2 separate regions of the Homo sapiens genome follow, and region 1 is linked to region 2. The links are contacts of gene promoters, found by promoter capture Hi-C in human tissues and cell types (Jung and others, 2019). All regions are on one chromosome and are shown on one strand. The core of a region is centred on a gene start or on the middle of the fragment in contact, and the rest is flanking DNA. Distances in the headings are between cores, read along the strand shown. Region 1 overlaps UNC5D (unc-5 netrin receptor D). Region 2 holds the start of UNC5D (unc-5 netrin receptor D).

Region 1 (5,264 bases), core at 934-3,433, 270 kb before region 2:
TTTTAATTAGCCTCACATAGCTATGAGGCTGTCATTTTTTCAAATTACAAAGATCAAAACAGAGAGCCCAAACAGCTTGCCTAAGGTCACACGGCAGGTCAGGGCTGATCCAGGATTTACCCAGGTATCCAGCTGGTGCCATAATTAAGTGAGAAGTCATCAATGGTTTTTGCTTCACTCTCATCAAACCCCCGTGAGTATGTGGCACTCTGTCCTTCTAAGCATTGTCCTCATACTTTCTCCTGCATAGAATACCTCACATCTTCATAATCTTTTTACCTCTCACCCACCCTTCCAGGCCTATAGTTAATTAAGGTCAGCCAAACCTGGCAACCATTTCAAGGGTTAAAAGCGTGAGTGATAATACTTTCTGCTTTATAGGATTGTTTCTGGAAGTTTAAGTCGTATATTTTAAATGCTAATAAGCACTGTGCCGGGCACTCAGCTAGCATGTTGAGCAGGTAACTATAATTAATGTTCTTTTTGACTGTCCCATTCTCTTTCTTTAGATGTTAAGACAGCACCAGACACAGGGAGGCTCTTTTAATACACACTCTTCAATGACGATGATTCAGAGGGAGCAACACCAGGAGTGGGAATTAAAATTCTAACTCCCTTTCTATTAAGGAAGCCACCAGCATAGTGTTTAACCATTTTAATTAACAAAAACTTACACTACTAATTACCCTCCATTCCTTCCTTCTTGAGAGAATGTGAATAAAACAGAGTGAAATATTCACAGTCCTGAGCACAGGGTCATATCCTTTCCCTGACACTTGCCAACTGATATGGTTTGGCTGTGTCCCCACCCAAATCTCATCTTGAATTGTAACTCCCATAATTCCCACATGCTGTGGGAGGGACCTGGTGGGAGATAATTGAATCATGGGGGTGGTTTCCCCCATACTGCTCTCATGCTAGTGAGTAAGTCTCAGGAGATCTGATGGCTTTATAGGGGGTTTTCCCTTTGACGCGGCTCTCATTCTCTCTTGCCTGCCACCATGATTGTGAGGCCTCCCCAGCTACGTGGAACTGTGAATCCATTAAACCTCTTTTTCTTTATAAATTACTCAGTCTCAGGTATCTCTTTATCAGCGGCATGAAAACGGACTAATACACCGACTATGTGATCTCTGGGAGATCACTGTCCCAAGTCAGATTTCTAGTGCCAGCCACACACTTTGAGTCCCTGCTCTGCCATGTTCTTAGCTGAGAGAATTTAGGCAAGGCTACAAGTCACCCAGGTATCTTGTAAAAATTCAGGTTTTGAATCCGTTGTTCTGGGGATAACTGATTTGTACTTCTACAACTGATTTTGTATTTTTAACAAATTCCAAAGTGATATTCATGCTCCTGGTCTATGGACCACACTTTGAGTAGCAAGGAGCTTGAGCATAGTTTCCTTGCCTATTAAGAAAAATGAAAATAACAGGATCATCCTTTCTGTGAGGATGAAATAAGAGAGTCCATATAGGCTGGGCGCGGTGGCTCACGCCTGTAATCCCAGCACTTTAAGAGGCTGAGGTGGGCAGATCACGAGGTCAGGAGATTGAGACCATCCTGGCCAACATGGTGAAACCCCGTCTCTACTAAAAATACAAAAAAAAAAAAATTAGCCGGGCATGGTGGTGTGCACCTGTAGTCCCAGCTACTCAGGAGGCGGAGGCAGGGGAATCGCTTGAACCTGGGAGGCAGAGGTTGCAGTGAGCCAAGATCGCACCACTGCACTCTAGCCTGGGCAACAGAGCAAGATTCCATCTCAAAAAAGAAAACAAACAAACAAAAAAACGAAGAGAATCCATGCAAAATCCTTAGTACACAGCCTTAGAAAGAACTCAAATCCATTTGAGATATTTTATTTGAAATAATTTTAGTTAGGAAGAATTGGCAGGACTGAAGTCCAGGGAGCTCCCATGGTCATCTGGGATAACCAGGATGGTAATGGCAGTCCTGAAATTTGATCCTGCCACACGCATGTGTGACAACTCTGCTTAGATCTGAATAGCACCTACTCTTTACAGGAAAAGAGCTTTGGCTTATAAGAAGGATAAACGTTATAGGCATCCCTCATCTCTAAGTTCACCCACCATTGGACTGTTTATCCAGCCCTCTGAGTGCTTTCGGTAGGCTCTGCCATGATATGCTTACCTTAGTGAGACTCTGCAGAAATTGAGGGATAACTTCCCATAAAACATGTTTATAATTGGCTATGGGAGACCAACACATTATATGTACCAATGAGGATTAATATGCTCGTAAAACACTGGTAGTAGCAGTCTCTCTTGCCAGCTGAAAACAATGCATCATCCCTTTTGTAGTCTCTTGTCTTATAAATTCATATTTTATTTATGTACAATTTAAAAATACTCAAACTTTAAATATTAAGCGGAGGGCAAGTTATCACAAATAATCATCTCTCTCACATTTGTTTAATGCCGAAGTTAGGGGAAAACATATCAATTAACACAGATCACTTTCTTCAACACACAAAGTTTTATTTGTTAACACATCAAATAAAGCACAAAGTAGTATTTGCTCAGAGGTAAACTACCAGAGCAGGAACTTTGTAAGGCTCATGGGAATTTTATATTTATGAAGTACATTCTAATGATGGTAAGAGTGGGGTAACTGAATGCAAATCCTTTATATCAATTCTGAATGGTAACAGTCATGATTTTAAATTTTTGTTTCTTCTTTTTTTAAAAGATACAAACTACTCAGAACTTTGGAGGCTTTCTGACTTATTTGTTTTATAACATCTGCCTTCTGCCCTTGCACGGAGATTTCAAAAGCTGAGACATCTTCAGCTAAGCTTTGACTGTGGGTGACTTGAGAGGCATTTCCCTCCAAGAGGAGCTTATAGCTATCTTCCTCACAGAGCCCCACTGCTCCACTCAGGGGCTCTGCCCATAGTGATCTGAATTTGAAAGCTTTCTTTCCCCGGCCTTATGCCTTCAAGTATAGAAACATAAAGGAAAGCCACCATCAGTACAAAAGCTACAACTAGGGCACAAACATGTGGGAGGCCAACTGGTGGGGACTCTTTGCTTTCAACCTTGGTCAGGCAGCACCTGGAAGTGACAAAGTTCTCTGGAAAAGTTTTTTCTGACACTAAGCCTTTCTAGATAGATGGCATTATTTCGAATGCCTTGGTAATCACGTTTTCTGAACCGTGTCAGTGTTTCCAGAGTAGTTTCATGGCTGACTCTCTGGGCAGACAGCCTTTGGTCAGTCAGACATGAGGTATTTATTGAGCAACTACTATGTAACAAGTGCTGTGCTAACCACTGGCAAACAAGTCAGACATGTCCCCTGACCTCACAGAGCTCATGGGAAAGCACCCAGAGGTGCAGTACCAAGAATCATGGTACTCTAAATGCTACTTTCCTCCTATTTCCTTTGAATTTTAACAATTTCCAAACCCCTATTAGAAAGGTTTTGGATCTTATTTTTAACTAAAACATTTTAAAATGTCATACTTGTCATTCTCCCTTGCCCCTAAATGTGGAAAATATCCAGTGAATTCAGCCTGATCTTTTGCTTTAAGTCATCCGTTCATACACATGCATTCAATCAATCACCAATCATTTATCACGCAGCCGTGATATACAAGGCTCTGTGCTAAATATGAGGATAATAACCAGCCCAAGATACCCGCAGCCTAGTAGGCAAGGTCAAAAACCTCAGTGGGTTAAACTATAATGTGACGAGTAGCATAAATATGGTTTACAGACAGTGTTGTGAGAAGTTCAGAAAAGAAAGATGTCAGGGATTACTTCCACAGAGAATAAAATATTTCATTCATTGGGTCACATAAATATACAGTTGAATAGGAACATGAATGGTTTAATAGAAGTACTTAACATCTTATAAGCCTAATAGAGTCAATAAAAGGCATTACAGGTTAAATGTAGCCCCCAAAAGTTAATGGGTTAAAAACATCTCTCTGCCCTCATGAATGGGTTAGTGTCACTATCAGGACAGTGGGTTCCTTATCATGGGAGTGGCTTTACTATAAAAGCAAGCTCTCTCTGGCTTTCTCCCTCTCGCCATATAATGCCCTCCACCATGTTATGATGCAGTAGGAAGGCCCTCAACAGATGCTAGCACTATGCTCTTGGACTTCCCAGTCTCCAGAACTATAAGAAATAAATTTATTTTCTTATTCAGAAAATAGACTAAGACAAGAGGCAAAGACATATTTCCTTGAAAACTAATTAATACTATCAGAATACATGGCTTAATGTCATTCAAATATGAAATCAATTATTTAAAATGAAAGGTGAGGGTGATAATTTGTTTTTGTTGTTGTTCAATACTGTTTAGGGTTTGAGTGGTGCAAGATGTTTACTATTCCCAATTTGATAGTTTCACTTGCACAGAATCCAATTAGAGTGTCAGATATTTTGCATTTCCAGTATAAGCATTAATAAAACATTGTAAGGGTAGGGGATGAGAGAATGAAATGTTTGTGTCTGCATGATTCATGGATGTTTTTCAATATCATGCAATGCTCCAACTAATGAGCAATAGCTGAGAAGCAATAGAAGGCATTAACTGTTCCATATTATTAATGCCCTGCTTGAGAATGAAGACAGGTCTGTTCCATGCTGCTTATAAACAGCTTGCAGTGCTCCTGGAGCTTGTCCTGGGCCCTATTCCTCCCTCTAAGCTACTCTTCTCATAAAGCTTTTCTACATTAAACCCAAAACTTTCAAAGGGAGATTAAATGGCTCCTCAAAAAAATGTTTCCTCTGGCTAAATGATGCCAGCACAGACATAATTAAAATATATTTGCCACATTTGTTTAAAAGTGTTCACTCCAGAGAACAAAGTTTCCCCAACAAATGATCTTTGTACACTCAGTACAGTCACTGAATCACATGTGGTTTGTTGGGTGGGGAAATTTCTGTCATTCGGTCAGTTAAGTTATGATGAATCAAAGAAATAAACAACCAAGAGGGAGAACTAAATGATAGCAAGGCTAATACTCAATCTTCCACAAAGGATGGCTAAAGTTGAGTTTTCTCTTAAGTGTAATTATCGACTTCATGTAGGTGCCTACCAGCTCTTAGGTCTAAAATGTTTGCTAATGCATGGACTTGCAAACTGGCAGGAGGATAGTAAAAAATAAAACTGAATCTTGCCCTGATCATAATTGCCCCTGTGGTGTGGTGTTTATTCTTAGCTAGAGAAACATTTCATTTATTGAAGCTATTCATCTGAACCAATCCCCAAGCTCTTCCCTCAACTTGATTTGCAGA
Region 2 (5,206 bases), core at 2,590-5,089:
AACTACCTGACGGATTCAGTCATCCAGTCCTGAGAGAGCTCAGAAAGGATCCACAGCTCCAAATGTTTCCCTCCCCTGTGAGGTACTACTTAAAGAACCACAGACCCACCGATAGGTCATCTGGAGAGCAAAAAAAGTATGCAAAGGGTGACAAGTGCTATCATTATAGGGCTAGGTCAGAACAATTAATCTCTTATTAAAAACTGAGATGCTTAAAAGATCTCTTAAGAAGGTGCCACTGGGCTGCTCAAAATAAGAGCACAACCCAAGAATCAGGAAAAAATAAGTCTGGCAGGAAATAGGGGAAAAAGACTCTTTCTCATAGTCCTAGGAAGAGAAAGATTTGTGAGGAAAAGGAACAGAAGAAGTAAAGTGGGAAGGAAGAGGGTGGCCTCACAACATTCATTAAGGTAGAAATGACTATAGATTTTAAACTTTATGAGCTAGACAGATAGACGGATTTAAGTATGTGTAAATCACAAGACTATTATTATGCCTATGTAATAAATGTGTACTTCTCTTGCCATTAATGCATTACTCTAGTTATTGCAATCAAAATTTCATTGTCCAGGAAATGTTTTAAAGCAAGAAATTGTATGAAAGCTCAGCTTGTCTAAGATTATCTTCCTCTCTGCCTTTAATGACTACAGTATCTTATGTACAGTATCTAAGGCAAAAATAACAAGCAGATGAACAGCAGTCCCCCTTTTTTTCTTGAAGAACAAAAACAAATCAGTATGACAACATGATGTGGATTCAGTTAGCACTTGGCAGGTCATGAATAACTTTTAAACAACCTCCTTTTAAGTTGGAAAGTGTAAAAATATACAGTGATCATGGCACCAGAGTGCCTTCCTTACAATATGCCGACAGGCAGAGATGTTCATCTGAAGAGCTAAGTCTTACTTACAAAGGAGGGAAACAGAACATTGCTTCTTGGGCCACTACTGGGCTCTACAACATTTCCTTGTCCCAAGGGTCTTCCTCCTAGAGTATATTCAAAACCAATTTGAAATCTCCCTCTGATTTGCAGAGGTTTCTACATAAGTATGGAGGGAAAGGAAAGAAAAAAAAAAGTTGGTGCAATCATTTTGGAAACAGATAAATGATAAATATGGTAAAGAAAACGCTACTGAATTGTTAAATATTCTCATAACAGCAAGGCAAATGGCATAATTCTATACCCCGTTGGTTAGGGCAAGCAAAGTATCTTGTTTCAAATCAACAAGAAAAGTCCTAAAGAACAAAAACTATTAATTGGATAAGTAAGAACAACCTAGGGCTAATCCTAGAGAGTATGGTGAGACTAGTGGTCAGGCAAGCATGCCACACCAGTGCATCTTATCTTGGTTTTAATGAATGGACACCTTTCTGGGAAGGGAGAACTTCATAAGCACTGAAACACACCCTCTATTCTGAAAACTCCAATTACACCCAACTGTGCAAAGCCAGGTGCATGTGGCTTCACCGGTTTCACAGCCTGACTAGTGCTCATTTCTTGAGGACTCTCTGACAGTTGCTAAGGGGAATGGGCCTCATGCCCCAGAATGTAAAATATGACATGGGAAATATCAGTCAGATTTACGGCTCCACTCCATGTGTCTTGCATATTACTATGATCTGTGCAAGACATTTGTTGTAAATAAGCCTGCAGAATGTACAGCATGTTTTCCAGGAGACCTTTAAAGAACAGCTTGCAGACAAGAGGTGCTAGCCTTAGTTTCGCAGCCAGCAAAACTCCATCCAAGAGGCTGCTGGCATGTCCCCACCTCTTGTTTCGAGCTGGCTTCAAGACAACGTCACCAACCCAATTCCAAGGGTGAGTACCTGGAGTTAGTGACTGTGAGGTATTCCACACGAATAGTAAGTGGAAACTCAGACATTTAGATTAACATTTAGAAAAGACCCACTTTTCCCATAAGAGTGTATTAAAAACAACTGAGAGCTGACTTTGCAATGAGACATTTGCCGTACGTAGTAAATTAAATGGCTGAAGCTTGTGCTTCTTCCAGTACGAGAAGGAACTGTGGTTCATCATAACCCAGGGTGTACAATCACCGACGCTCATTTTTAAACCTCCCCTGCTTCTTACAAAGCCCGCTCCATTAAAAAAAAAAAAAAAAAAAAAAAAAAACTTTTCAGGAAATGAAATGCAAATGGGCAAAGAATAGGATCATACAATGGAGAGCCTCTATCAACCTCTTAAAAAGAAAATCTTTCTAGGCAGCCGGACTGCTTTTAACACGCCATAAGCTTTTATAAAAATGAGATAACATTGGTTCTTTTGTGATCGTCCTCAACCCTTTCCACCCTTTCACTCTCCAGGCTGGTCGGAGCATGTTCAGGAGACCGAACAGAGCAGGTGAAGTGGTCAGCTCAGCTCCACCTCTCCCCTGGCAAGTGTAAGGCAAATCATTTAACGGTATCACATATTCTAAGCCTGATGGATGGAACACAGAGAAGGAAAAAGGGAAAGAAGGGCGGGAAGGCAAAGCTTCCGATTTTTTTCAAAGGTAAAGCTCCGGTACTTGAGCTGTGTCTGAAACTGCCTCTGATCATCTTCAAAACAACTCCTTGGGATTTATCTTTAACTTGATGCTGCCTGTCCTCGCTCAAGGTGGAGCTGAAACCAGTTGCGAAATTTCCCTCTGCTGGAGTCCAGAGGATCCAAGAAAATGGGGTCTAGGCTTCTAAGTCGGAAAGAAGCAGAGGTTTCCCTGCGGCTCGGTGGGGCCCGCGCTTCCAAGCCAGAGTAGGCGCCGGGAAGGGAGAGGAGGCGCCTGGTGAGCAGCCTCGGGCCAAGTGCTCATCCCGGCTGGGCACTGCAGGCGCGGTTAAACTGGGATGGTGCACGCCGCTCTCCCGAGCTCCAGGGCTGGCTGGGACCTCGGGCTAAGGACGCCCGAGGGGTGCCAAGCTAGGCGCAGAGCGAAGGGACTTCAGCATGGGTGTTCCTCCCCTAAGGGAAAAGACACCCTCTCTGTTCAAGCCCACCCTACAGACACTCCCATCACCTGGCCCCTCTCCCCAGGAACTCTCCGACATCGCTATGGGCGCTAACTCATGACCAAGCTCGGCTTGAGAGGAAGTGGAGAGGAGAGGGGAGAGCGAGATTGGAGTGAAGACCGGGCTACTCCAGTCTGCAGCAATTGGGGAGGGCTTGGAAAATGGAGCAGGCAAGGAGGGTCCAGGAAAACGGTAGGGGCCCGGGTCACAGCCACCTGTAGGATTGCGGCAGATCGCAAACTTGGGTTGGAAGGCTGTGGTCCCCTCGGAGTCCTCCACTCGGCTCCCATCCGGTTGGGCTTGGAGCGCCGAGGTGCAGGGCGCAAGTTGGGAAGCCAACGCCATCGGTGCAGGTCCCGCTCCGTCAGGCTGGCGCCCCTGCGCCCTCGCCCCCAGCTGCCCGCTCCGCCCAGCGCTTACCTCGGGCAGCCGCGGTCCCTGCCGCCCAGAAGCACAGCCCCAGCCACGGGAGCCAGCGGCGCGCCCCTCCGCCGCCGCCTGCGGTGGCCGCCGCTCTCCCCATGCTCCTCGCCGCGTTCCGGAGGGCGGCTCTTCTTCACGCTCCGGGAGCCCGGGAAAGGGTCGGCGATGAGGGTCCCGAGTCGAATGGGTCTCGGGAGTCTTCAGAGAGTGACTCTGCTCCACGATCGCTTCCTAAAGCAGCGGGGCAGGGAGCTCCGAGCCGCCGCTGAATGGGCACCCCGAGAAAGGGCGCGTCCCCATAGCTTCCCACGGCGCGGCGACCGCTGCCGCCAGCGCGGATGCCGGAGTCGCCCGCAGTCCCCGCCGCGCAGTTCCCAGCCCTCGCGCCGCTGCCGGGCCCCGAACTACGGAGCGGAGGCGAGAGTCCGCATCGCTAATGAGACCCCCGCAGCCGCCCCTTCCCCTCCCCTCCGAGCGGCAGCCAATGAGCCGGGCTGGGGCGGGGCCGCGGGAGGGGCGGTGACGCGGCGGCGCTGGGCTGGGGCCCGGGAGGCGCAGGTGAGCCAGAGGCCGCTCCACGTGCCCCCGGGGCGCTTCGGGCCCCGCCTGCAGCTCCCCCCCCCGCTCGCGGAGAGAGGAAGCGGGCTGGGAGTCGGGCGGCGGGGATGCGGCCACGCCGCGGGGAGCTGAGCGGAGCCGGCTGGCCTCTTGGGGCGAACGCCGCACAGATATGTGGGCATCTCGGTTGCCTAACTCAGTCACCTGCTTCCAGGAGACCTCCGTTTTGTTCATCTACTTTGAGCCCTTCTAAAGTCCTGCCTCTCCTACTTCCACTTTTTCCCATTAGATCAGACATCACTCAGGAAAACATCCTGAGAAAAAGAAAGACTTAAAATAAATGCGTAGTGGGAAAAAATAATAATGGAGTTACTCCATTGCTGCAACTATGCTAACTTCATTCATATAAATAAAGAAGTGGGGAATAACAATCATGGGTGCATTAAGGCTTGTATAATCGATTTTTATTTTTGCTTTCTTTTTTTTTCGAATTCCCTATTCTGTTGTCCTGAACACTCCGGAATCCCCAAACTTTTCAGAAGCTCCCTCATTTCGAATGGCTCCTATTTTTGTCAGTTTTAATCTGAGCCCAAGGAATTGCCTTCTGGTAAGTATCAGGGAAAGGAGTGTCGACTTAAAAAGGAAGAAGGTGAGGCGAAATTAATATAAGTAAGAGTTTATTTGGGCCAAGTGTGAGGATTGCAACTCAGGAGTATAGATTTAAGTTGTTTTGAATATATATTTTGATTAGTAGTAGTTATAAGTGGATTCTTAAAGGCAAAAAAAAGGGGGATGGGGAGTGGACTGATGTAACATTGTTAGGAATTTATACTGATTTATTGAAATAATGTCGATTAGTGATTAGTTATATATAGTTAAGTCATAGGATGTGGGTTATACTGTTTGATGTGGTATTATTAGGTTAATTTATAGCTATTTGTAGTAATAGTATGTAGTTTTAAGAAATGAATATATAGTTTAAAGGAAGGAGTAGGGCATGATTGTGGTCTCATTCTAATGTCTCTCTGGGCCTGACAATTAAAAGGACTTTGAAACGCGCTGGACTTTTATAAGAAGAAGGAAAGAAGACTCTTTTTTTTTTTTTTTTTAAGTGTGGCTTGTTTTAGATAGATTATCAAATTTTTATTTAACTGCTTTCGAAAATACCTCACGGTTGCCTCTTCCCTCTGCTGGAGGAGTAACTTTAGAGAGCTTGTCC

What was found. Contacts are between HindIII fragments. The study calls those that stand out against the background at their distance.
Region 1: a contact is called between a fragment that was not itself captured here and the fragment with the promoter of UNC5D in region 2, in 2 of the 25 tissues and cell types used here (aorta and spleen).

Annotation. Positions count from the first base shown.
Region 1 is chr8:35,499,074-35,504,337 of GRCh38, reverse strand. All of the region lies in intron 1 of UNC5D (unc-5 netrin receptor D), which reads right to left. Among named protein-coding and RNA genes, the nearest start is that of UNC5D, 270 kb to the right of the region's middle. The HindIII fragment of the contact is 3,255 bases long and covers 556-3,810 here.
Region 2 is chr8:35,234,108-35,239,313 of GRCh38, reverse strand. It overlaps UNC5D (unc-5 netrin receptor D), which reads right to left and starts at 3,839. Exons shown (of 17, transcript NM_080872.4): 1 at 3,427-3,839. The coding sequence starts at 3,529. The HindIII fragment of the contact is 15,361 bases long and covers 355-5,206 here.